Regions from separate parts of the Homo sapiens genome. Here regions 1, 2, 3, 4 and 6 are each linked to region 5. Evidence: promoter capture Hi-C in 16 types of primary human blood cells and fetal thymus (Javierre and others, 2016). All regions are on one chromosome and are shown on one strand. Each heading gives the region's core, a stretch centred on a gene start or on the middle of the fragment in contact. The rest is flanking DNA. Distances are from core to core; before and after follow the strand shown. Region 1 has its middle 150 kb from the start of VEPH1. Region 2 has its middle 240 kb from the start of SHOX2. Region 3 has its middle 95 kb from the start of VEPH1. Region 4 has its middle 110 kb from the start of VEPH1. Region 5 holds the start of MLF1 (myeloid leukemia factor 1). Region 6 has its middle 260 kb from the start of SHOX2.

Region 1 (4,327 bases), core at 470-2,969, 920 kb before region 5:
TTTCTTTCTCCACTTCGGCATATACGTATTTCAAGAAACAAGCCTTTTCCTCACCAACCTGTCCCACAGCCACCCTGAATTTCCCTGGTGTAAATGGACATGGTCATTTCATGCTAACCTCATGGAATACTCTGAATACTAGTGAAACAGGTCCTTGGTCCAGCCCTGTGTAGTCATTTATTGGAAGTAATTTTGAGTAGAAAATGTCCTTCTCAGGATTTTTAGCTCTTATATGAAAGTATTCCAATGCTACTCTCAAGAACCCAGAAAGGTCAGATATTTTAGTTTAAGCCCATCTCTAATTAATTGTAGTATTTATGTTTAAATAGATCAATAGCTGAGTTTGACCTCAATGTACAATGTGAGCTTTACAATATCATTGCAATATGAAGGAAGCTGTGATGTGTGGGCCAGGCAGACCACTTATATCGAACTCAGCAATATGGACGAGAAGCTTTTGTTCTAATGAACATTGTATTTCAATGTTAAAAATGGGAAAGCCACACTTGGGTTCCATCCACAGCTGAGCTCTGAACCTGAAAGGAACAGGAGGATCCTGGGGGAAAGAATTATAGTCTCCTTTTAGCAGTAAGACAAACCCAGCTGGCTGGAAACCACAGCCATGGCTCCAAGTCAGTTTGTCTTCTTGAAGAGGAAAAATAGAGAAAAATGAACAATTCTCTCATAACTTACACACATTATTCTTTTGCATTCAACAATTATTTTGAGAATTATTCTTAAATGAATCATACTTGGGGGAAAGTGGAACTCTGACAAGAGGGGTTGGGGCCAAATTTGATTGAGAAGATATGTTAGCATCTTTTCAAGAATGTTCATTTAGTGAATATTTGCCTGATCTCCTGACTTTACAGATGAGAAAACTGAGGCCAGAGAATGCATGTAATTTGCTCCAATTAGAAAACTCTATTATCTGGAATCCCAGTCCAGAGCTATTCAGAACATACATATACACTACACTTGGACCCACACACTCATAGAGAGACATGTCCACAAACACCAACACCTATGCACTCCTGCATATACACACATGTGGTCCCAAGGACAAAAAAAAGCCTCCTCAAAGAAGCAACTTGAAGGGCATTGGGCCAGCACTCAATCTCTGATTCTCTGTGTGAAATTACACCATTAAAATTCTTTATTTTGTATCTTGACTTTTATTTTCTGGAGACATCTATTAAAATGCAAATGTTCTTAGGGAAGAGTAATGCTGTTAACTATCTGATTATTAATGAAGAATTTAGGCAGAAAATATGGCTTCCTATGAAAGTGGTGCACTTCATGTGTGCATGCCTGTGTATGTCTGTGTTTGTGTTTGTGTGTACCTTTGTGAGTGTGTGACTGTATGCAAGTGTGTACATATGTGTCTCTATATGTGGGAGTCCATACATGTTAGTGTGTGTCTCTATGTGAATTTGTCCATGTGTAATGTAAATGTATGTTCTGAATAGCTCTGGATTAGAAGTCCACATAATAGAATTTCCTAATTGGAGTAAGTCAATTCTCTGGCCTCAGTTTTCTCATCTGTAAAGTCAGGAGATCAGATAGAATGTCTTTCAGGTTTTCTCATTCTCAAATGCTCTCTGTACAATTTTGCCCAGAGCCAGCCCTTTCTGGCCTGTGTAGTAAACTTTATTGTCTGATTGTAAATTAAATAATTACTTTTACCTCTCACCAACAATAAGCACAAGTTATTCAATAACTGTGAAAAAAATTCACAAAAGTACCAATTTTTTAAAAGACGGAGCAAAATGAGCAATGTTTTCCTGTCATTTTAAATTTATCTGTTGTACTTTCTGGAAGATTTGTTGAGTATCTTTGGAAGAATAGATGCTAAACTATCTCCCTGCCCATTCTATGGTATCCTTACAAGAAATAAATGGTGTGTCAGAGCTCAGAGTGGACCTCTGCGGATGAAGGTGCTGACCAAGCAAAGTACTCAGCTTGTGCAAGATGGTCTGTTTCCTGAGGAAAAGGGAAGGAGGAATGACGGGAAATAATCACAGCTTCCTTTCCTACGTATTACAAAAACCAGAATATTAACAAATCACACTTATCCCAGACTAGTCTATTTTTCCTTTTTACTTATCATGTTATCTATATGATTCCCTGGGATACCATTTATTAGCTACATGACTTGGGCAAGTTGTCTAACCCTTCTGTGCTTCAGTTTCTTCATATGTAAAGTGAGGATAATAACAGTAATTAACTCATAGGGCAGGTATAAAGTCTAGATAAGTTATTGTATATAAAGCCTTTAGAATACTACCTGGCACTTACTAAACATTACATACATATTAGCTAGTGTGTTTAATTTTGTTATTCAAAATATGAGCATTTTCATGCTAGTGAAGTGCACCATTGAAAATGGTAAACCTGGAAGCCAGCAGCTAGAAAATTCCAGGGCTTCCTTCTCTTGGCTTTTACGTCAATAAATTAAAATCTGATATTTGCATTTCCACATACTGAACAACAGTTGGGAGCCAAGTACCAGTAAATCTGTTTACTGTTGTTACAGTAAAACAACTGTATTGTTGCCTTGGTCAGTTCAGGCTGCTGTAACAGAATATCATACACTGACTGGGTGGTGTAAACAACAAGCATTTACTTTTTACATGTTTGCAGGCTGGGAAGTCCAAGATGGAGGTGCTGAAAGGCATGGTGTCTGGTGAGAGCCCATTTCCTAGTTCATAGATGGCTATATCACTGTGTCCTCACATAGTGGAAAGAGGGCAAGAGAGCTCTCTGGGGTCTCTTTATAAGGTCACTAATTCCATTCATGAGGGCTCCACCCTCATAAACTAATTACCTCCCAAAGGTCCCACTTACTAATGCCATCACACTGGTGATTAAGATTTCAACATACAAATTTTGAGGGGACACACACATGCACACATTCAGTCCATTGCGACGGTGTTTTCTGGGGTAGTAAAAATAGATTTCCATGCCCCAACACTGAAAGCAGGGAAAGCTTAGAGCCACCTGTTATCCTTACTGCTTCCTCTATATCATATTAATATGATATAATTTAAAATGACAGTTTGCCACAGCTTTTGAGCAGATAATGCACTTAATTTTGTAGTGTAGAAACATGAGTCTCTTTTTAATGCCATATATTTGATTTTTAGTAGCTGGTGAAAGCATTTTCCTCTAGGATGAATCTGTTCTATGCTGAACCAGGTTGTCTTGGATGAAGGACCTCTCTCCCACACCAGCTGGGTGTGCCTGCAGTCCACTTTCTCATCTATACTCACCCACCCTCCTTAACCAACACAATTATTTCATTAGCAGGCTAAAAATACACAGTCTTAACATAGATGTGCCTCACAGAACAATCTTTGTTTCGCTGTGAATTAATTAACTGTAGCTCTGTTTGTTTGTTTGTTTGTTTTTGAAACAGAGTCTCACTCTGTTGCCCAGGCTGTAGTGCTGTGGCATGATCTCAGCTCACTGCAACCTCTTCCTCCTGGCTTCAAGCGATTCTCCTGCCTCAGCCTCCCAACTAGCTGGGATTACAGGCACCTGCCATCATGCCTGGCTAATTTTTTGTATGTTTTTAGTAGAGACAGGGTTTCACCATGTTGGCCAGGCTTGTCTTGAACTCCTGACTTCATGTGATCCACCCACCTTGGCCTCCCAAGGTGCTGGGATTACAGGCATGAGCCACTGCGCCAGGTCTCAGTGTAGCTCTTAAAGCCACATTTTGACATGCAGCTGAAAAGCCTTTTTTAAAAACTTTTATTTTAGGTTCAGGGATACATGTGAAGGTTTGTTACATAGGTAAACTCGTGTCATGAGGGTTTGTTGTACAGATTATTTCATCATGCAAGAATTAAGCCTGGTACCCAATAGTTATCTTTTCTGCTCCTCTCCCTCCTTCCACCCTCCACCCTCAAGTAGACCCCAGTGTCCGCTGTTTTCTTCTTTGTGTTCATAAGTTCTCTTCATTTAGCTCCCGCTTGTGAGAACAAGTGGTATTTGGCTTTCTGTTCCTGCATTAGTTTGCTGAGGATGATAGCCCCCAGCTCCATCCATGTTTCCACAAAAGACATGATCTCATTCTTTCATATGGCTGCATAGCATTCCATGGTGTATATGTACCACATTTTTAAAAAATCCAATCTGTCATTGATGGGCATTCAGACTGATTCTATGTCTTTGCTATTGTGTATAGTGCTGCAGTGAACATTCACATACATGTGTCCTTATCGTAGAATGGTTTATAATCCTCTGGGTATATACCCAGTAATGGAATTGCTGGGTCAAATGGTAGTTCTGCTTTTAGCTCTTTGAGGAATCACCACAGTGC
Region 2 (4,140 bases), core at 1,258-3,757, 700 kb before region 5:
GATGGAGTCTCACTCTATTCCACCACGCCCAGCTAATTTTTGTATTTTTAGTAGAGACAAGGTTTCACCATGTTGGCCAGGCTGGTCTGGAACTCCTGACCTCAGGTGATCTGCCCACCTCGGCCCTCCAAATTACTGGGATTACAGGCGTGAGCCACTGCTCTTGGCCTGATAAAAGTTTCTATTATCACTTCAACACCAAAAAGAAATGAAACTAAAATGAGAAAAAGAAAACAAGTCTGATCCTATATATAACAAAGTATAGATGACAATTGCAACTAGTTGCCAATTCTTGGAAGGAACAAAAAAATGTATCAGGTGTTGATTGGTTTCTCTGGATTTAATACAGCTTTCATTCAAACCAATAGCAAAATAACAGCATTCTTCACTTTATCCATGCCCAGAAGATCCCAGGAAAGGTCAGAAATTTTCACAAATATACCCAAGAACTTCAGCAATTTTTCCAGGAAAATAAAATGAGGCTTCAATGATTTTCTTTTGAATGTCCATGGTGAAGTCATCCCTGTTGACTTTCTCATTGCTAACCCTGACAGATCCTCATTTGTCAATGATTTTACATGTGATTCAAATAGTCTTCAAACATCACTTTTCTCAACTTCATGAAATCTTGCACATTTTGCAAAATTTCCCATTTCCCTCTGCCGTCAATTTCCCTTGTGTTTTCACATTATTGTCAAGGGTTTGTCACATCAGGAAACCAGCAGGAGCCAACAGACAAGGATGCTGATGCCATGAGCAGAGATAGACACTAATGTTGAATGGGAGCTAATAGGAGGTCATTTATTAATGTTTTATGTTACAATAACTTTTACTCAAGACTAAAGAAGCTTAGATATTGGATACTCAGATGATGTTCTCTCGTAATTACTTTGTCTTGCATCCATGTGGTAAGTGTGGAATGAGATAGCCCATGCCTGCAGAATCTGAGGAACTCATGTCCAAAGCCTGTCCCTTTCCACCGCCACACACCGTCTCCATCACAAGTCATACTCATCACCTGGCACCACAGAGAAAGGTGTGAGGGTATATTCAATAGCCCCAGTAGGAAATCATTGTACTCACACCCCAAATCATATGAGAAACATCTAGTCATAACGCTGACCTGACCTGCTCACAAGGGCTCCATCCTATGGACACCAGCACTGTTGCCCAGGCCTGCTCTGGGTCCCAGTCTTCCTAGTGCTGTCCTTTGGAGACACATAACTTGGCTTCTCTCTTACCAGCTGGGCAAAGAGTGAAGATGGTAGCTCATAGGAATTAGTAGATGTGAGGAAAAGGAATCACTAGTCCTATCTGCTATGATCCATGAATAGGGACAGTTTTACATGTGTGTCTAAGGAAGGCAGTTTAGAAGAAAGGAAGATAAGGCCAATCACATGAGCATTTCAGCTCATATTCTTGAGAACCAGAGACATCAATAGAATTAGAACTCTAGGCCTGGGAGTCAGGAAGCAATTACTTGAATAACAGTCTTTCTTTTGGCTACCACATCAGCAACAGTCTCTCTTGTGACTTTTTAACTTAAGAACAGATTCTGGTTGAATGAGTCATCTTCTTTTTAGGCCAAGAAATAGAATTGCTGAAATCCTTAGGGTAACACTTTGGAGAAGTGGTCCAAAACTAAAAACTTGTAATTCTAGCCAATCACATTCTCTGCAAAGCTCACTGAGACAAAGTTTCCCAGTTGACAAATATGGTGAGGGCTTAAAATAGACAGTGCTCTGGAGGTAATGAAATCTCTCACTTTCGTATTTAGCATTTCTAGTTGATTCCAAGGATGGCAAAGCCATAAAACAAAGAAGCCTGTTTCAAGGATGGGTAGATTTGGGGAGAAGCGTGTCCAGTGTTGAATATATGTTAACTAAATTTTGGTCCCTAAGTGCTTGATAACATTATCACAAGAAAAACAACATAGCATCTATTGGTAGTGAATAGGAGTGATATAAGTTCCAAGCAGGACATTTATTGGAAGGCAGAGACAGAAAATGTAGTCTGAAATAAATGTACTGCAAATAAATGAAAATTATGTGAAAAGACTGAAGATGGCTACCTGCATAATGGGCCACTTCCACTAATTAATCACATACCTGCCTAGTCTAATTGCAGTGAGACTGGGAAATTTGAGTGAGTACATGGAATATTTGATCATCATTTACTATATCTGCCATGGCCCACCCTTTTCATCACCAAATATTTCTTTGTTTCTTTCTTCCAACACAGAATAGCCCTAATTCCTCCACAGGGGAGACCGGCCAAAGTTCCATCCATCCACCATTGCATCCAGTTCAAAGTTTAATCCTTCTGGATGATGTCCAATTTGTTTCTCCATCAGAGCCAGATGATGTAACTTTTCTTGGTTCTGAGGTCCTGATCCAAAAAAGACAAGTTATCTACTTCCTGTCCACATATATGCATGTGCATACATAACCACCCAGTAAGGTATATGTAAACATTTCCATTTGAAAAGAAACTAATGGAAGACACACAGCAGCCTCTGACCCGCAGCAATTCAGGAATCCAGCTGGGCAGACCTCCTACCCTCAGGATGGAGGCCCCTTGGTTAAGCCACGATTCTGCTCTCTGAGGAGACTTTCCTTTTTCATCGTTTTCCTTGGCTCTTTGACTCATCCTGGAGGAGATTCTTCTTTTTCTTTATTCTGTTTAGCCACATTTAAAGTGAGCTTTAGGGAATTTGAACTCCTTAGGGGCATCCCAGGTTTCTCAAATTGCTTCCGATTAGGGACCCCAGGGTTGTTTTAAGTTCTGAATATTCAGATACCTTTACATGGTTGCTTTAGTTATGTAGTTCCCTAAAAACTCTCTTTGCTTTTCACTTCACTGGACAATAAGCACATCCATGGCTGGGTGCGGTGGCTGATGCCTGTAATCCCAGCACATTGGGAGGCCGAGGCAGGTGGATTGCCTGAGGTCAGGAGTTTGAGACCAGCCTGGTCAACATGGTGAAACCCCATCTCTACTAAAAATAGAAAAAAAAATTAGCTGGGCATGGTGGCTGGCACCTGTAATCCCAGCTACTCTGGAGGCTGAGGCAGGAGAACTTCTTGAACCTAGGAAGCAGAGGTTGCAGTGAGCCGATGAGGTCGTGCCATTGCACTCCAGCCTGGGCAACAAAAGTGAAACTCTGTCTCAAAAAATAAATAAATAAATAAATAATAAGCACACCCAAAGAACTTTACAGCTTGTAGGTTCTTAGATCTGTTTTATTTCTTTGCTTCTTCACCTTCATGCCTCTTTTTCTGAACTCCATTGTGAATACCGATATTAGGCTATTAGGTTTGAATGAGAGGGTCACAGCTTGAGCAATATTTGCCTTGAGGCTTATTAACTAAGTGAGAAACCTTTTCCCCTTCAAAGTCTTTTTAAATACGACCTCTTATTGTTTGGGTTCTAGAAGCAGTCAACTCTTCCAAATTTTAAGGCCCTGAATTTCAAACTCTCTCTGTACCTTTTCTTTTCTGCTTTATAAACTGACCACTTCTCTTCTGAGCTCATCTTTCTTGTAATATCTTGTCAAGCATAGCCAATAATATCACACACTACTAAAGTCCTGTTTTTCATTATCTTCTCATAGCACTGCAAATTAATTAGGTAAGTAGTTGTCCTGCCTAGTTATTAGAAGCAATAGTTTACCTGAACATTTTGCCACAAAACCATAGGGATCATCATCTTTTCGCTTCCAATATTAGTTTCCTCACAACCCACCCCGATGGCTAGGGCAATGTTATGTATTTTAGGTTCTTCTAATGATAGTACCTCACCTCAAGACAAATTTTATATTGACACAAGTTGTCACAACAAACCAGCTCTGAAATCTTAGTGGCTAAGCTCAACAAGAACCCATCACTCACTCACACAAAGTCTCATACACATCAGCAGGAGCTTCCTTGCTTTTGCTGACTAAGGAGCCCATTTTCATCTGTGACCTAGAGCCTGATCAACAATGGATCAGCTTCTAAAATCTCAGTAATGCACTTGCAAAGCTGAGGGCCAGCCCCCAGCACATGCTGACAATCAAGGGGCAGAGGCCCACCCTCGATGGACATCAGTACCTTCTGCCTCTTCATGCCACCTTTATGATGGCAGCATGTGCTTTTGTGC
Region 3 (3,924 bases), core at 1,341-3,840, 970 kb before region 5:
ACCAGGAGAAATTATGATTCAGCAGGTCTGGGATAAGACCTGGCTGTATCTACTTACAAAAAAATTCTAGTGATGACTTTGACATATACTTAGGGCTGAGAAATCACTGACGACATGCAACGTTTTAGACTTTTATAACAGTTCTGAGAGCAAGATTATATTTGATACCAAATAATTTTATACTTTAATCCTTATGATTCTAATTTTAAATGCTTTTTTGGCTTATCTTGGTAAAAGTCATTGCCAATCCAGGATTCATACTAGTGACTTCCAAATGACCACTTCTGGTTTTGGCTGTAAATTAAAGCCTTCTCTTCCTTTTGATTCCTTCAACCTCTAAACAACAAACAAACAAACAACCTGAATAAAAGATATAAAATCTCTTTGCCAAAACAAGTCCTTGCCCAGAACCACCCCAACTAACCCCAATTAAGCCAAAATTCTAAACTCCTTATAAAAATGTAGTAGGTGAGAATATTGTCCATACACTTATGTGTGGAAGAAATGGACATTTATTTTCCTGTAAGTCAATTTCTATTTCAAGCTCCCATTCCAATAGGTGATAAAATCTTAGTTTTAGTCAATAATGAGTATCTTCTACCTATCTCCTAGGGATTGCTGTAAGTTATTGGGAATTTAAATTATAGTAAGTCAAGGAGGTGGGGGTGCACAGGAGGGTGTTCCATCTCATCTGGATTATCATTTTTCCTGTTGGCATCCACTGAAATGTCCTCATTTCCATTTGATCCTTATTGCTATGTCATACCTCACACCCCAGTGCAAGTCTTTGGGTCTCCACTAATTTCCACGCATTTCCAAGACACAAGAGACTGAGCCTGCTCCTCCCACCCTGTCCTGTGCAGGGCTAAACTATGTGGTCACCTCTGGCAAATTTATGTTGACACAAGAGGCAGTCACCTCTACTCTGAGATATTGCTACTCCCCAGGCTTTTCCCAGGAAAGAGAGATGGGTCTCCTCTTTTATCAGGTCTCCAAGGCTCTGTGTGTTTGCAACTGCAGGCTCCCTCTGTTAAGGCCCCCAGCATCTACTCACTCCTTGCTGCTCCTTCCTCTGCTATGGGGAGTATTTCCTAATCTCTGGGGCAGCAAGTCTTGCACTTATACAACCAAGCATCCTCACAGATTTTTCATACTGTTTATGCACAAGCGTCTTTTCAGTTTTCCTTCAAAGGTTAGACTTTTGAAAAATCAGAGAACATGCTTTGATTTTCTCTTTTAGGCACCATCACTTGTTCCCGGACGCAGTAAGGCACTCAGCTGAAAGCGTGTGGATAACACTAAGGAGTAATGGGAATAGAAGGTTAAACCTTCTCTGAAATGCATTTGATTTAGCCTTGGCTGAAATTGTGACCAAAGCTAGAGGATCACAAACTTCAGCACTCAGTTTCATGGCTAATTTTGAAGAATGGGAGACTATTGGCATAGGAATTGGTGAATATGAAGGACTGAGTCAGCCAGAAATTCTTAATATATAATAGTGAAATACAAGAAGATTATTTTAAACACACTAAGAATATAAACAGCAAGATTAGGATGAAGGTCTCTTTTCTTCATGTTTATATTTCTTCTGTTTCTTGTCATAAAATTATTCCCTAACTGGTTTGCAGTAATTTCCTTGGAGAAGTACTGACTTTAAACTTTTATTGTTATCTTCTATGGACTATAAGTTTAATCTTAGAGACATGCTTGCTTGGAATGGGAAATTGCATTTACTCACTGTAAGTTTGTGAAAGGAAATTGAATTTGATAGAATTTTATTGCTGGAAATCAAGTCACTCACCTAAACATGTAATGTACACACCAGCTCTGTGTCCTCTCTAACTTCATTCTGTTATTTTACTCTTACATAAAGGTCTTGACTTCATTTAGTTAAAAAGTATCCAGCCCATCATTTAGCTTTTTCCTTGTAATCGTGTTGGAAAAACTCTGAGATTTAACAGAAATAGTTTTAAAGAACAATATGCATTTAAGTTTTTCTCTACTAGTGAAAAAAAGGAAATACCAAGGACAGGGGGAAAACATTGATTAATACTTCACACTGTTATTCTGCCACAAAAGCTTAAATATCTTTCTAACATGTCTTAGTGGCAAAAACACAACTTCAGAATTGTGCCGTTAATGGGAACATGAAAAAGCCACAGAAAAGCTGAGGAATTAGGACATGGACATAGTCAGTTTCTCAGGTTTAAAGTGCCCAGTTCTGTCTTGGTACTCGGGGTGATACTACTATAGAAGAAACTGGTAAAATCCATTCACATAAATGCATTGGTCATGACCTACTTGTCTCCTCCACTGTTACATAAGATTTATGGAGGCTGAGATTTTGTCTATTTGTTGGATCCCAGGATATCCTATAGAAGCATGGTAGGCAGTCAATTAATATTTGTTAAAATAAAATTTAAAAAAAGAATGAATAGCTTCTCCCAGGAGTCTGGGTAGACTTTCACTCTATATTTTTTAACATGCTGTAGAAAAATGGCAAGTCTTTGTGTGAAGGTGTTAAAGTGGTTGGCATGCCAACATTAACCATGGCTGTCCTTAGAGCAAGAGCCCTTCCCTAGATTCCTGAAACCACACACCTCGTTGGTCTGATACAGGAATTCTATGGAAAGCTCGCTTTGTGTCTGCACATTTTTTAGTAGGTGAGCTGCATCCCTCTGTCTAGTGGGACACACTTGCATATTCACAAATGGGTATTTTCCTGCGAGTAGTTTACGTAGTTTTGTCATATGAATGGTTAGTGAATTATGTGGATGAGGCCTGGAGGAAAAGGAGAAAGAAAACATCCAAACCACTTTCACTTGGCAGTATATCTCCACAAGGTAACACATCTGCCGGGGCTTGAAGAAGGTGGAGACACAGCTGTGTTGGGTCACTGTGAAAGGACATGATTCTACCTTCATGTCTTCATGTCCTTCCTTCCATTACCCTATCATTGCTCCTGAGCCTCTCTGGCCTAATTCTGAACTGACAAGTTTAAAATTTATTCTTTATATTTTTAAATGTTTAAGACGTATGCAAAGAATAAAAGTAACTCTACCCTCCCTTTTCATTGTACTGCAGCTCAGAAACTAGGTAGTAAAGCTTAATGTTTAGGTCAGGAACCAGGGGACACAAGCACACACCTGTACATGTGCATTGTTTCGTGTTTAGTAAAATATTGAAACTAAATTAACACTGATAATTTAAAATGGCCTAAGTGTAAAATTTAACATTCTTTCAAGACTAAGAAGCTGAGCTTCATAATCTTTACTTTTTGTTCTGTTTTGTTTTTTAGTATAAAAGCTAATTACAATTTGGTTTGAACGTTAAAGTTTTTTTTAATGTACTGCATCTACAGCACATTTTAAAATTTATGATGAAAGAACTTTGGTTCATAATCATCATCATATGTTTTTATAATTCATTATAACTTGTTATTCAATTTACTTTTCAATGATCAAAAAGTTTTCATTAGCAGCATGTTGACTACCATAAACATACCTTAAATGTACAAAGTTATCTGGTCTCATCCAGCTCTCGCTGTATCAAGTACATTTTTTAAGTGAGTAGAAGTGCGATGCCAAAAAGTCTTGTTTGTGAACAAGCAAATCTAGTTCACAAAATTTTCATGGAATTTTTCACATGGAATTTTTCACAAAAATTTCATGGAAGATTTTGCAAGTTGGTATTTTGTTTTGGGATGGAAATCAGCATTGTTGAAATTGAAATGTAAATATTGAGTAATATTTTATTTTCGATGTTCCCTTCTTTCCCCAGGATATTCCAACCTCAGTTATTCAAAGACTCCATCACCAGAGAGAAAGTCAGATTGTCACTTTGGGGAGTCCTCTGCCCTGTATATATCCCATATTCTTTCAGATAAGTGAAATTAGCATGCCTGGGTATTACAGTTGTTTATGC
Region 4 (4,368 bases), core at 478-2,977, 960 kb before region 5:
CTGCCTGTAATCCCACCACTTTAGGAGGCCAAACTCGGCAGATGGATCATCTGAGGTCAGGAGATCGAGACCATCCTGGCAAACATGGCGAAACCCCGTCTCTACTAAAAATACAAAAATTAGCTGGCCATGGTGGCAGGTGCTTGTAATCCCAGCTACTTGAGAGGCTGAGGCAGGAGAATCTCTTGAACCTAGGAAGTGGAGGTTGCATTGAGCCGAGATCGTGCCATTGCACTCCAGGCTGGGTGACGACAGCGAAACTCCATCTCAAAACAAACAAACAAACAAACAAACAACAACAAAAAACAAAAAAAACCTCACCTCCCTCTCTCACAGCTCTTGTCTCCTTTTGGGCCTAAGGAAAACACCAGTTCCACAGGAGAGGATGAAGGTAAATGGGAGGTGAGACGGCTCTGGAACTGGCCTCCTATGAAGCCACAGTAGCTTAATTCCCTCACGAAGAGACTTCTTCAGCCAACCACGTCTCAGGCTGCACCCACCAATCACAATCCCAGAAAGAAGAGGCAAGGGAGTCTCTGAGACAGGCTGTCCTCAGACCAGGAGCTGAGGTCAGTGGTGCTCTGCAAACTTTCATCCGAACTTTGTCTCAGCCTTCCTTTTAAGCTCCAGGAAAGACTAGAAGTCACAATCTTAGAGGAAATGGACTTGGGTTTTCATTAAATTTCTCCTGTATGGGGCATTGGGCAATGGGCATGTGAGTTCAGCTTCTGACAATGGTGATTCCCATTGCTCTGTTTGAATAGAAGCCACACTTCAGAGGAGAAAGAACAGGGAGTAACGGTGTCTGGATTTCTGAGTCACCCTGGTCAGGATACACCAGGTCAAAGTGCTTACCTTTCAGTCGTTTGGATGATTTACTGCTACCTGACTGGTCTCCCTTGCCTTGATTTTTCCCTGTCTATGTTTACTTTACTCAGAGGAAATACCTATCTCCTTATCTTACCCTAATCAATAGATGTCTTTGGTGGGTCTCCACTGCTTATCCATTCAAACTCCTCACCTCAGAGTTGCAGGTCCTTCATCACACTGGCTCACCGCTCCCTTCACAGGCCTGCTTTCCTGCCAAGCCACATTTCTAAGAGTTCCCTAAACTCAACCTCTCTCTTTCAGCTTTTCCACCCATTGACTTTATTTCAGAATAATTCCCTCACCCAGAGCACCACACTGCTCTTGCTACAAACCTCTCTATCTGCCCAATTCCAGCCATCAAAGCTTACCCCTAATGTCACCCAAAGTCTAACACGGTCATTATCTCAATGGTGATGATGAGGAGAAGGATGTTGGTGCATAGCATGTATTATTATGTACCAGGCCACATGTTAAGTGTATGGGTCTTTTCCTCAAAACAACCCTACAACATAGGTGGTGTTATTATCTCCATTTGACAATGGAAAAGAAACAACCAATGCACAAAGAGGTGACATGACGCTTCACTCCACCATGGATTGTAGTAAGTCATACCACTTTGCATCTTTCCTTCTAAGGGAGCATGAGTGGGGCCCTAGGCCTCTTCTTTCCCACCCCCTGCCTACTGCAGTGCCTGACACATGGTACCTACTGAGTATATTGGGGTCATTTCAGAAGAGCACAAGAATTCAGCTGCTTATTGTGTTTTCTGGCAATTGGCTATTCTCTCATTTGGTGACTTAGTTTTATATTTCATAGATCAATTCTAGGGTGGACAGAGGAGAGTCGTCTGCCACAGGAGAAGGAAGCATCATGTAGGTTCCTGATGGAGACAGGGAGGAAGGCGGGGGGAATCCTTTCTTCTTCTTTGGGATGGGGGCAGTCACTCCATGTGGCCATCTGTGACCCAGGGCAGCGTATCACTGAATGGCTCCAGTTCTTCAAGCCTGGACAGGATTGGCCATAGTTCTTATGGGAGTGAATGGGTAGGGGAGGGTTAAGAGGAATAAAACAAAAGGTTTGGAACTGGTAACTTTGGTGTATATGTGCATGCGTGCATGCGTGTGTGTGTGTGTGTGTGTGTGTGCTGTGTCACAGAATGAACACTAGAGACTCAGGGCTGATTAACTTCACCAATCATACCCCAGAGAGGGGAAAAGCCAATCTCTCTGTGCCCCAGTGCTTTTGTCTATGGTGGGGGGTACAGGGGGTCATGGCTTCCCATGTGGAGCCCAGGCTTCCTGTCCCAGCTGGCAGTGGAATCTGCATTTCCAAGATCACAGAGACCCAGGCTCAAGCTTGGTGTTGCCACTTATAAGTCAAGTGCCCTCTGGCAAGGAACTCACTCGTTCTGAGCCTCAGTTTGCACCTGTGTTAACACTGGGTAACATACCTGTATTTCAGGGTTGGTGTCAGGGCTGGATGAGACAGCATACACAGACCATGGGCATGAGGCCCAGGCTGGGGCTCAGTGAAGAAGAAGGTGGAGTTTCATCTCAGGCTCCCGCAGTCCATGTGAACCCACGTGGACACTGCTCTATGCATATGTGGTGCTTCTCTGCTATGAAGGCCTCAGCCCCTGGGCCCCCTCAGGCCCAGCTTTCCCCAGCAAGTGTTTCTTCTGCTTCAGGAGAAGCCTGCCTTCAGGGGGGCCAAAGCCACATTGTATGCCCACTGGGTTGTCCTTTGCACGGCTTTAAGAAGCAGGATTCTACTCTGTTTCTGATATCCCATAATAAGAAATGATATATTTTGATACTTCTTTGATTTAATGGGTCTTTAGTATGCATGAGCTAGAATTTTGGAGACCATGACTATAATTTGGGGCTTGTAGGTAAGTACAGGTCGGAGGCTGGACATAATTCACCACCTCTGTGTGTCCTTGGGTCTTCCATGTGTCCCACTCATTCTTTGGCGAAGATTGCTTTAGGATGTTCTATTTGCTTCCTTATCTCCATGCCCATCTTCTGAATTCAGGCAAAGAATAATTCCACTTTAAAAGTTGCTTTAAGAAGCCACACTCCATGGATGAGGAAAATGGAGGTCGAAAGAGATTTAAGTAACACACGCAGGTAATTACAGAGGGTGAGTGGCAGATCCAGAGCAGTGAACAGACCCTGAGTTCCCAGAGTAGAATCTTTTTCAGCTCATGTTGCTATTGGCCTGCATCCGTGAGATGTTCCCGTGTCCATATGCTTTCTATACAATTCAATGTTTTTTCTTCAAATTGACTCATATTTTTATTTCAATAAATTTATCTTAAAGGGAAATTTTATATCATGACTTTATGAAAAGGCGGTATCACTTGCCATTAATAGGAAGTTATTAACTAAAGACAATGCAAAATAGTAAATGAAATTTTAACTGTATATTGTTGCCTGGGCAAAGAAAACATGCTGGAAATCCGTTCTCTTTTATTAGAAAGGATGATTGGCAGGTTTCAGGGATGTTAAAGACCTAAGAGGACAAAACTGAAACTGATTCTGGACCTGATTCCAATGCTATCTAATGTCATCAGTGAGAAGAATTTTTCTCCAATACAATCAGTAGTATAATTCTCACACTTGGAGACCACTGCAGTGGACAATGTAGCCACATCAGATCCCCTTGTTTCTTTAGAGGTCAGCAGACTCCTTATCTTTCCTTGCCCAGCAAGCTCCATCAAGAATATTAAACTTAAAAACAGTTCATAGACATTTTGTTTAGTGACCAAATACCCAATGAACGCCTGACTCCCTTTCATTTTCTCCTGTTGAAGAATACATGTTGAATTTAAGCATACATTTTCATAAATTTTCTTATGGACTATTTTTTCACCTCAGAAACAATGTCAAGGTAATTAAATTTTAAATAATAAGTCAGGGAAGTTGTTCTCAGCAATGGAAAATGCTGTGATTTAAATTGCCAATATACAAATACTTTTAGTTCTTGAAAACCACTGCCAACTGTGCCTGCCGGAAGTTATATGCTCAATAGCTTGCTATGATTGATGCAGGCATTAGTCATTAAAAAAAAAAAAAAAAAAAGGCGAACTAAGTAATTTGCATCCAAAGGATGACATCAGTAACACCATGAACTTGTTGTTCTAGAAACTGACCACTAGATGGAGAACTTGCAATTCAAAAATAAAATAACTCAGCCTCTTCGGTGCAAACATTTTACCAAAGGATCTATTGTACTTACAAACCTGCATCTACACAAGCGAGAAGGTACTACTTGCCCTGAAGATGGTATTCTTTTCTTTTCTACCAGACTTTGATATTCCTCTCCCTCTTTCCTCAGGACAGGTCACTTCTCCCCACAGTCGGTGTTTCTGTGTGAGTTCACCTTTAAAACTTTGAGCATGTCATTATTGTATTCCCAGCCCTGTAACTGAGTAGAAAAATGTGTTCCTTAAGATGTGGTCTCTTTCTTCCCCCTGCCTTGACACTACTCACTCCT
Region 5 (4,127 bases), core at 28-2,527:
GGGGAGTAAAAGATCCAAACGATTAAATTTCCAGCTCTCAAAATAACCCCTGACTACTCCTGTCACCTCCAAATCAGGGCTTGCACACTTCTTCATGCTGGCAAAGTGCCACCCCTCTGGCCTGATCCCAGGGGGCCCTGATGAGCTATGGACGCCCCTTTATCTCTGCAAGACAGCCACGTAGAGAAGCTGGGGAGCTCACTGAATTAAGGGTGGACATGCAAGATGTATTTTCTCTTTTCTTATACTCTTACCATTCTTCTCCTTAATCTCTCTTCTGTCTTCCCCTCCATCTGTCTCCAGGCTCCTGAAAGGCCCCGTGATAGTGTTTTCTAAAACTTAGTAATTTGAGTACCACTATCACGATGTTCCTCTCCCCTGCTCTGCCTACCCCTCCGCCCCACCATATCCAAATTCCACCTGTTCTATTTGATAGCTTACTTTTTCACTTAAAAATGCAAAATCTAGCTCTTGATGTATATCACTGATTTAAATTTAAAATCAGTTTCCTTGCCATAAATAGAAAGCTCCCTGATAAATGTAATGCAAATAAAAACATATAGTAGTGGAATTTTAGTTGGATATGGCTGCTTGCTGCAGGCCTGTGCCTGAAACCTGCTGTTAGGTTAAGAAATGCTGGAGAAGTGTTAAAAACATATCAGCATCGCAGTGAGACTTGATCTTTGAAAGAGAGACACAGAAGGACAACCGAAAAGAGAGCAGCTTTCTCAAGAGGTAAATAAGTTTGTTGAAATCTGATAGGCTTCATCCCATTTCCTTCAACAACTGAGTACACTATTTGCTAACTGTACTAAAAAACGTTTTGCACATTTTTTCTTATTATTTGCTCACAGCTTTTGACTACCAGAGAATGTTTCGGATACAGGACTAATTCCTGTGGATGACAGAATGCGACCGTTGAATGGGACATTGGGTGTCATCTGGTCCAAATCTTGACCCCTTTTCATTTTCCCCGAAAGAAAGACTTGCGGCTCGGAACCGAGGGCGGCATGCCCAAGGTCACAGAAAGGGTGGTCTAATGTTTTGGTTCCTGCAGCCCAGAGAACAAGCTATCCCATCCCACAGGAGCCTTGGCGAAAAGCTCCCCGGCCGGCGCAAGGCCAGACTTCTCGCCTCCACTGTGTTGATTGCGGTTGCCAGGGCAGCGGCGCATTGCTCCCCGCCTCGTCCTGGTGACGTCACAGAGCAATGTCCAATGGGAAAGCAGCTCGGTGTCACGCACCTCCTATCCCGGCGGGCACCGCCTGCGCCGCGGCGAGTGAGGCGTCGTCCGTACTGGAGGCTAGCTCTTGTCGCGGCCGCGGCGAGTTAACATCGTTTTTCCAATCTGTCCGCGGCTGCCGCCACCCAAGACAGAGCCAGAATGTTCAGGATGCTGAACAGCAGTTTTGAGGATGACCCCTTCTTCTCGTGAGTTACGGGAGCCAGGAGTCCGGGGTCGCGCGGGAATTAAGGTATCGAGGGGAGCTATTTTAAGGGAAAAGAGCGAGTTTTAGAGGGCGAGAGAGAATTCGGAGTAACTCTGGAGGCGGTTTGAAGGAGACGAGGATTTGGAGGCCTGGGAGGGAAGAGAGAGGAGGATTTAGGGGTGTGTGAGACAGGGAAGAGACGGATTTGGGCGCATGAGGTGGAGAGAGGAGGGTTTGGACGCGTGAGGTAGGCGGAGGGAAGTTTGGGGGCGTGAGGTGTGGGGAGGAGAGTTAAGGCTGGGAGTGGGGGGAGAAGAGTTGAGGCCGGGAGGTGGGGGGAGGAGAATTGAGGGCATGAGGTGGGGAGAAGAGGTTGAGGGCGTGAGGTGAGGGAAGGGTTTGGGAGCATGAGGTGGGAGGGAGGAGGGTTGAGGGCGTGAGGTGAGGGGAAGGGTTGAGGGTGTGAGGTGAGGGGAAGGGTTGAGGGCGTGAGGTGAGGGGAAGGGTTGAGGGCGTGAGGTGAGGGGAAGGGTTGAGGGCGTGAGGTGGGGGAAGGGTTTGAAAGCGTGAGGTGGGGGGAGGAGGGTTGAGGCTGTGAGGTGGGGGGAGGGTTTGGGAGCGTGGGGTGGGAGGAGGAGGGTTTGGGGGAGTAAGGTGGAGGGGGGAGGGTTGAGGGTGTGAGATGGACGAAGGAGGATTTGGGGGTGTGAGGCGTTTGGAGGAGGGTTGAGGGCGTGAGGTGGGGGGAGGGTTTGGGAGCATGAGGTGTGGGGGAGAGTTGAAGGTGTGAGGTGTAGGAGGAGGGTTGAGGACGTGAGGTGGGAGGAGGATTTGGGAGCATGAGGTGTGGGGGAGGGTTGAGGGTGTGAGGTGAGGGGAAGGAGGGTTTTGGACCGCGAGGTGGGGGGAGGAGGGTTGAGGGCGTGAGGTGGGGGGACGGTTTGGGAGCATGAGGTGCAGGGGAGAGTTAAGAGCTTGAAGTGCAGGGACGAGGGTTGAGGGCGTGAGTTGGTGGGGAGGGTTTGGGAGTATGAAGTGCAGGGGAGGATTGAGGGCATGAGTTGGTGGGGATGGTTTGGGAGCGTGAGGTGGCGGTAAGAGGGTTGAGGGTGTGAGGTGGATGGAGGAGGATTTAGGGGCTGAGGAGGATTTGGGGGCATGAGGTGTGGGAGGAGGGTTGGGGAGAAGGGTTGAGGGCGTGAGTTGGTGGGAAGGGCTTGAGAGCATGATGTGGGAGGAGGGTTGAGGGCGTGAGGTAGGGGGAAGAGGTTTGAGGGTGAGAGGTAGTGGGACGAGGGAGGGTTGGGGCGTGAGGTGGAGGGAGGAGGGTTTGGGGGCATGAGGTGTGGGGAAGAGGGTTTAGGGGCATGAGGTGTGGGGGTAGGAGGGTTGAGGGTGTGAGGTGGACAGAGGAGAGTTGATGGCGTGCAGTGGGGGGAGGAGGGTTTGGGGGCGTGAGGTCGCAGGAGGATGGTTGAGGACGTGAGGTAGAGAGTTGAGGGCCCCAGGTAGGGGGAGGAGGATTTGGCTGCATGAGATGGAAAGAAGGCCCTTCCTCACACTCCCGGGGTGCCTGCTGCTTTCCATTTGGCCGGACTTTGGGTGCCCGTCATGGCTTCCTGTGTGCAGAGTTGGCCTTTGCAGCTTCAAGGGCTTTGCAGGTGACATAACTACCATCTCGGTGAAACTTATGGTGAGAATTATGTTCACATAATTGCAAATGGGAGCAGGGAATATTTTATAGCTCCTCTTTAAATTCCAAATAGGAACAGGTAATATTTTATAGCATGACAGTTCATTGAAAAGGGGAAGTTTTTAAAACAGCATTTTCCATGTGAGTGGGGAATGTGTCAATGAGAGCACGACAAAGTTGGAGAGTTGTGCTTTCTCTTCGAAGTTGTTGGAAGTTGCCATGCCAATTGCGCTGTTTTCTTTGCTCGCTTTGTTACAGAGCTAACCTTGTTTGTGAAGGGACTCCGCTTTCTGTCAAAACTAGAAATAGGACAGGGAAGCTGATGGGGCGGGGCGGGGGGAGGGGGGCGGGAGGAGGGCGGCGGGGGGGGGGGGGTGTGTATTTAACACCTCAGGTAAGCAAGTGCCATTCGTTGCCTTTGAAGGTTCCCAGTGAAGTAATGTGATGCCCTAGAAAGAAGGCATCCAGAAATTGGTTTCACTATTATTTATTTTTGAGTTGTGGGATTTTTTTTCCTTAATTCTAACTTTGGCCATTGTTACAAACACATTGACATAGTCTAGTTGTATCCCTAAGAGGGGAAATTTGTAATACTTTTTAGCCTAAGTGTTTTTTGCCAGTTTGAATTTTGATTTCAAGTCTAGTTTATTTTGATCCCTTAAATTTTCTAGGTTTGCAATTTGGAGAGCATTTTTTAAAAAGGTCTTAAAATAAGAGTTTATTGCACATATTTTTCAAACAATATCTGTGGGGGGTGTGTTGTGCGTCTGTGTTTGTTTGTTTGAGACAGGGTCTCACTGTGTTGCCCAGGCTAGAGTGCAGTGGGTTGCTCTCGGCTCACTGCAGCCTCTGCCTCCCAGGCTCAAGCGATCCTCCTGCCTCAGCTTCACAAGTAGCTGGGTCCACAGGAGGGAGCCACCACACCCTGCTAATTTTTTTTGTAGAGAGGAGGTTTCGCCGTGTTACCCAGACTGGTCTCAAACTCTTGAGCTTAAGTGATCTGC
Region 6 (4,370 bases), core at 521-3,020, 730 kb before region 5:
CATCTCCTCTACTGCCCTACCCTAAGGAATGCCCAACCACCTGCCCCATCACTCGCCATCACATCACCATCTTTGACATTCTTCCTTGCACATTTCCCCCCTTTAGAATGCCAGAGACAAGGCTGGGTGCAGTGGCTCACGCCTATAATCCCAGCACTTTGGGAGGCCGAGGCCGACAGATCACAAGGTCAGGAGTTTGAGACCAGCCTGGCCAACATGGTGAAACCCCATCTTTACTAAAAATACAAAAATTAGCCAGGCATGGTGGCGCACGACTGTAATCCCAGCTACTTGGGAGGCTGAGGCAGAAGAATTGCTTGAGCCCAGGAGGTGGAGGTTGCAGTGAGCTGAGATCACACACTGCACTCCAGCCTGGGCAACAGAACAAGACTCTGTTTAAAAAAAAAAAAAAACAGAATGTCAAAGGCAAGAGGGGACTGTCCTTGCTTGCCCTGTTCATGTCTGAACCCCCAGAGCTAGACAGTGCCTAGGACAGGGTAGGTACTTAAAAAAATACTTGTCAAATGAACAATTGCTATGGAGTTTTATAATTCACCATTTTAGGTGATATTAGTCCGGACCAGATCCAGTTACTTTAGAAGCAGAAATATCAGTAGAACAAGAACAAGATGCCTGATACCATTAAACACATCTCAAGTTTTGCCTAATTATGGACATCCACAGGGTCGAATTTGCTGTAGGTTTAAGTGATGTGTCAGCTTTTTCTGGTTTGTTCTCCTATTTTCTAATTCTTTTCTCACTAAAACAAAAACAATACTTCTTTGGCAGTATTCTTCCATAGGAAGTAAAAAAAATGTAAAATAACAATATGTTCCAGATATCTCCATGGTTTCACTTTTCATTGCAAACAAAAATAAAAATAATTGTACCATAACTACTTAGAAGATAAAATAATCTAAAATTTCTTTAATTAAGTAATTAAAAAGAAACCTAAACAAACTAACTTTAACAATGATATTTTAATGTGCTCACACTTCCAAAGAATATTGACTGAAAATAGTAATAACTGTAATAGCTAACATTTATTAAGCTTTTCTCTGTGCCAGGTACTATCGTAAGCATATTTCTTGTTTTAAATCATTTAGTTATCACAAAAACTCTCTATGATTAATACTATTTTCATTTTATATATAAGAAAACTGAAGCACATAGAGTTTTAAGTAACTTGCTCAAAGCCACACGGTTAATAAATGTGACAAGAATCCAAATCCAGGGATCCAGATGCCAGAGTTTACGCTCTTACACTGCACACTATACAGCTTCATTAGGTTAGAGATACCACATTATATTAGAGATAACATGTATAAAATTTCTATTACAAAGTCTAGAACCTAACAGATACTTGATGCCTGGTAGATGGTATTCTTAGCAATAATTTCCATAGCATCTGAGATGAAATTCAGGGGACACTAGCTCCTATCAGGGTACAGCCTCAGGTCTTTGATGCTAAGCTTGTTAAGAAAAACTTATCAGAGCTGAAGTCAGGCTGTTGGCCTGGGCTCAAGAACTCAGAGGTCAAGATTTAGGAAGAAATCGAGGCAGCAAACAAGAATGTAAATGAGAAAGGTAATTGATGAGAATCACATTGTCAAATCAACATCAGGTACACTATGGAATGAGGCTTGATAGAAAAAGTCAAGCTCAGGCACAATATAAATCAGAGTGTAGGTGACAAAGAAAACAGCAGGCTGAAACCAATGATATCAGAGATGCAGAATAAGACCAGAGAAAGTAGAACCATGGGCCGTTATGCCTATTGGCCACTGAGGGAATCCTTCCACACCTCACTCTGGTTCACACACTAACCTCATCTTCTCAGAACTCTCTACCTCCCGCCAGGTTCTGACAACTCTATTTTATAAGTAGAAGAAACTCATTTATGTACGTAGATAATGTCCTAACTTTCCAGAGGCCTCACTTATAATCAGTGATAGAAATCGAATGTATTCTTTGCTGCTTTTCTAAAATCAAAGATGAAACTATCCCAATACTAAGAGAAATCATATCTTCTGTTCTTGCTTCCTTATCTTCCTTTCTTATTGGAAGATAAGCTTTAGGAAAAGAATGGAAGGGGAAAAGCCAGGAACAGGATGGATATTTTTCAGTGTTGTCTCAATCTTGATGATTGGTTGCTGAGGGGACTTTTTCCTCTCATCAGCCATGTCTCCACTATGTCTGGATAGTCCCAAGCAGAGAAAGTGACTTTTACTAATGCTTTGGAAGAGCCAGGAACATTCCATGAGCTTCCAGGTATATTTTTAGTCAGGAGTCAGAAGTACGACCCAGAAAATAAGTCTTTACTAAGTACAATCTGACTTTATGTCAAAAGCATAAAATATATATGTAATTTTAGTATAAAAAATGAAAAACAGTTTTCACCTAAATAGTGCCATTTTAAACATTGTCCAAAAGCCATTCCCTGGGTGAAGAATTGTAAAAAGATTTACTGGAAGCAACAAATGTCTTCTAGCCTTTAAAAAAAAATTTATTGCTATATCATGGTTTTACATATTTTGGGAGTATGTGTGATATTTTAATACATATATACAATGCATAATGATCAAATCAGAGTAATTGGGATATCCACTACCTCAAATATTTATGTTTTCTTTGTGTTGGGAACATTACAATTCTCTCTTGATTTACTTCTTATATTCCATTATTTACAAAGTCTCTGTGAAACTAAGAACATGAAATCATTTCTAGGTTAGATCTGAAGAGAAGAAGACATAGAAAGCTCTTCCTTTTAAACTGGGGTGGGGGCAAGAAGGGAGTCAAAGATGTTACTGAAGTAATAATGCATCTGAGCAATATAGGGATTTTCTGAGTGATGAGTCTAATGTTGTATTTTTTCTTAACTTCTTCTGGAATAAGTTTCCAATTTATTAGAGTCCCATCTGTAAAGTAATAGAAATTATCTACTTATAGGCACCAAGAGAAGGAACTTTCCTGGTATGGCAATCTGGTACCTCATTATTTGGTGAAAAATGTCTACACATTCAGAATTATGAATGTCACCAATACGTCTAGAATAAGCATTTGTCACTCATTAATATTCATATTGCTGAAACAAAACAGTTCATACCGTAGCTGCTCATAAATCTGGCAGAAATAGGGGAAAAGAAAAGGGAATGGGAAGAGATAAAGAAAGAAAGAGCTCAGGGATAGATTGAACACAAGAGGGGACTCCATTCATTCAGTCTAACATCTGCTCAGCCTGAAGTGGAACCACCTGTTAGTTTATTAAATTGTAGGATTAATTTATGTGGAAATAAGAGAGGAGGGAGAAAGGAGTCTTTAATTCATACTCCCTCCAAAAAAAATCTTCTATTTATTCCCATCTTTTAAAAGAGCCTTTTATGAACAGTAATTGGTGCCATGAATACCTAGCCCCATTATATAATTAATTTAAGAAATGAAATGTGTTTCATAACTGTTATGTAGGCACATTGCCTATAATGTTTTTGTTGGCCATTTCTTCTGTCATCCTTAAAGAAAAGACCACTGGTACCTCCCTTAGCAATTCCACAACAATAGTAGCAGCAGCAGCAAAATGAGCAAGGCTAAAAATCTATACGGATGTGAGCAACACCAAGGAAGATCTTACCTTCCATGTATTCCCGTTTGTGGGGGATATTTTAATGTCTCCTCAGCAGAACAGATGAGAATAATACAGCTGTAGCTACAGGGTCATAAGAAACCCAGCTCTGAGTAATGCAGAAGTCCCCATTAACCTCTCTGCCTCCTTTAATGAAAGACATGCTGCATTGCTTCCTCCAATATTCTCAAATCTCAGGATCTCAAATTTGCTGAATTAAAGTGGTGGATATTATATCTACGGTTGATTTCCCCCTAAGTTTGCCAAGAATGTCAGATGATCATCAAGAAGCATAAATATGAAAGGAGATTAGAAAAACTATACAAACTTTTATATGAATGTAGATAGATATTTCCTGGTATCTCTCATATGTCAACGTGTCATCTTTTTATAACTTGTGGACTGGTTGTCTAAGTTGATCACAATTACCTAGGGCACTGTATATGACAGCCTCTCCCAAGATTTGATTACCAGCCACAATCATCTAAAATTTTCTCTTAAGAGGTGGGGGCAGGAAGGATTTCTTAAGGAGCTGTATTTTACTGTTTATTCAAACAACTAATGCTGTCCTTTTCTAAAGATTATTTCTTTCATGTAGCCTAGACCTTATGAGATAACTTCTTTAAGCAGTTCTTTTTGTATGATTAAGGTTCATAAACTTCCTTGGGTAAAAATGAGAAGAGATTATTTTAAGTCTCATCCTTTTTGTCTCTTGAAAAAGTCACCTAAAAAATTGAGGCCAACTTTCCAT

Evidence for each region. Contacts are between HindIII fragments. The CHiCAGO score rates a contact against its expected background, and 5 or more counts as called.
Region 1: a contact is called between a fragment that was not itself captured here and the fragment with the promoter of MLF1 in region 5, in 1 of 17 cell types (M0 macrophages). The highest score is 5.1, in M0 macrophages.
Region 2: a fragment that was not itself captured here is called in contact with the fragment with the promoter of MLF1 in region 5 in 1 of 17 cell types (M0 macrophages); the score reaches 5.2 in M0 macrophages.
Region 3: a fragment that was not itself captured here is called in contact with the fragment with the promoter of MLF1 in region 5 in 1 of 17 cell types (M0 macrophages); the score reaches 5.7 in M0 macrophages.
Region 4: a fragment that was not itself captured here is called in contact with the fragment with the promoter of MLF1 in region 5 in 6 of 17 cell types (M0 macrophages, M2 macrophages, endothelial precursors and 3 more); the score reaches 8.5 in M0 macrophages.
Region 6: a contact is called between a fragment that was not itself captured here and the fragment with the promoter of MLF1 in region 5, in 1 of 17 cell types (erythroblasts). The highest score is 5.4, in erythroblasts.

Annotation. Positions count from the first base shown.
Region 1 is chr3:157,651,952-157,656,278 of GRCh38, forward strand. No RefSeq gene overlaps it. Among named protein-coding and RNA genes, the nearest start is that of VEPH1, 150 kb to the left of the region's middle. The HindIII fragment of the contact is 2,535 bases long and covers 453-2,987 here.
Region 2 is chr3:157,866,787-157,870,926 of GRCh38, forward strand. No RefSeq gene overlaps it. Among named protein-coding and RNA genes, the nearest start is that of SHOX2, 240 kb to the right of the region's middle. The HindIII fragment of the contact is 3,322 bases long and covers 847-4,140 here.
Region 3 is chr3:157,596,413-157,600,336 of GRCh38, forward strand. It overlaps the pseudogene SLC66A1LP. Among named protein-coding and RNA genes, the nearest start is that of VEPH1, 95 kb to the left of the region's middle. The HindIII fragment of the contact is 1,026 bases long and covers 2,078-3,103 here.
Region 4 is chr3:157,614,295-157,618,662 of GRCh38, forward strand. No RefSeq gene overlaps it. Among named protein-coding and RNA genes, the nearest start is that of VEPH1, 110 kb to the left of the region's middle. The HindIII fragment of the contact is 992 bases long and covers 1,232-2,223 here.
Region 5 is chr3:158,569,917-158,574,043 of GRCh38, forward strand. It overlaps MLF1 (myeloid leukemia factor 1), which reads left to right and starts at 1,278. Exons shown (of 8, transcript NM_001369783.1): 1 at 1,278-1,431. The coding sequence starts at 1,385. It overlaps MLF1-DT (MLF1 divergent transcript), which reads right to left and starts at 1,150. Exons shown (of 5, transcript NR_104147.1): 1 at 255-1,150. The HindIII fragment of the contact is 5,771 bases long and covers 1-4,127 here.
Region 6 is chr3:157,840,005-157,844,374 of GRCh38, forward strand. No RefSeq gene overlaps it. Among named protein-coding and RNA genes, the nearest start is that of SHOX2, 260 kb to the right of the region's middle. The HindIII fragment of the contact is 600 bases long and covers 1,471-2,070 here.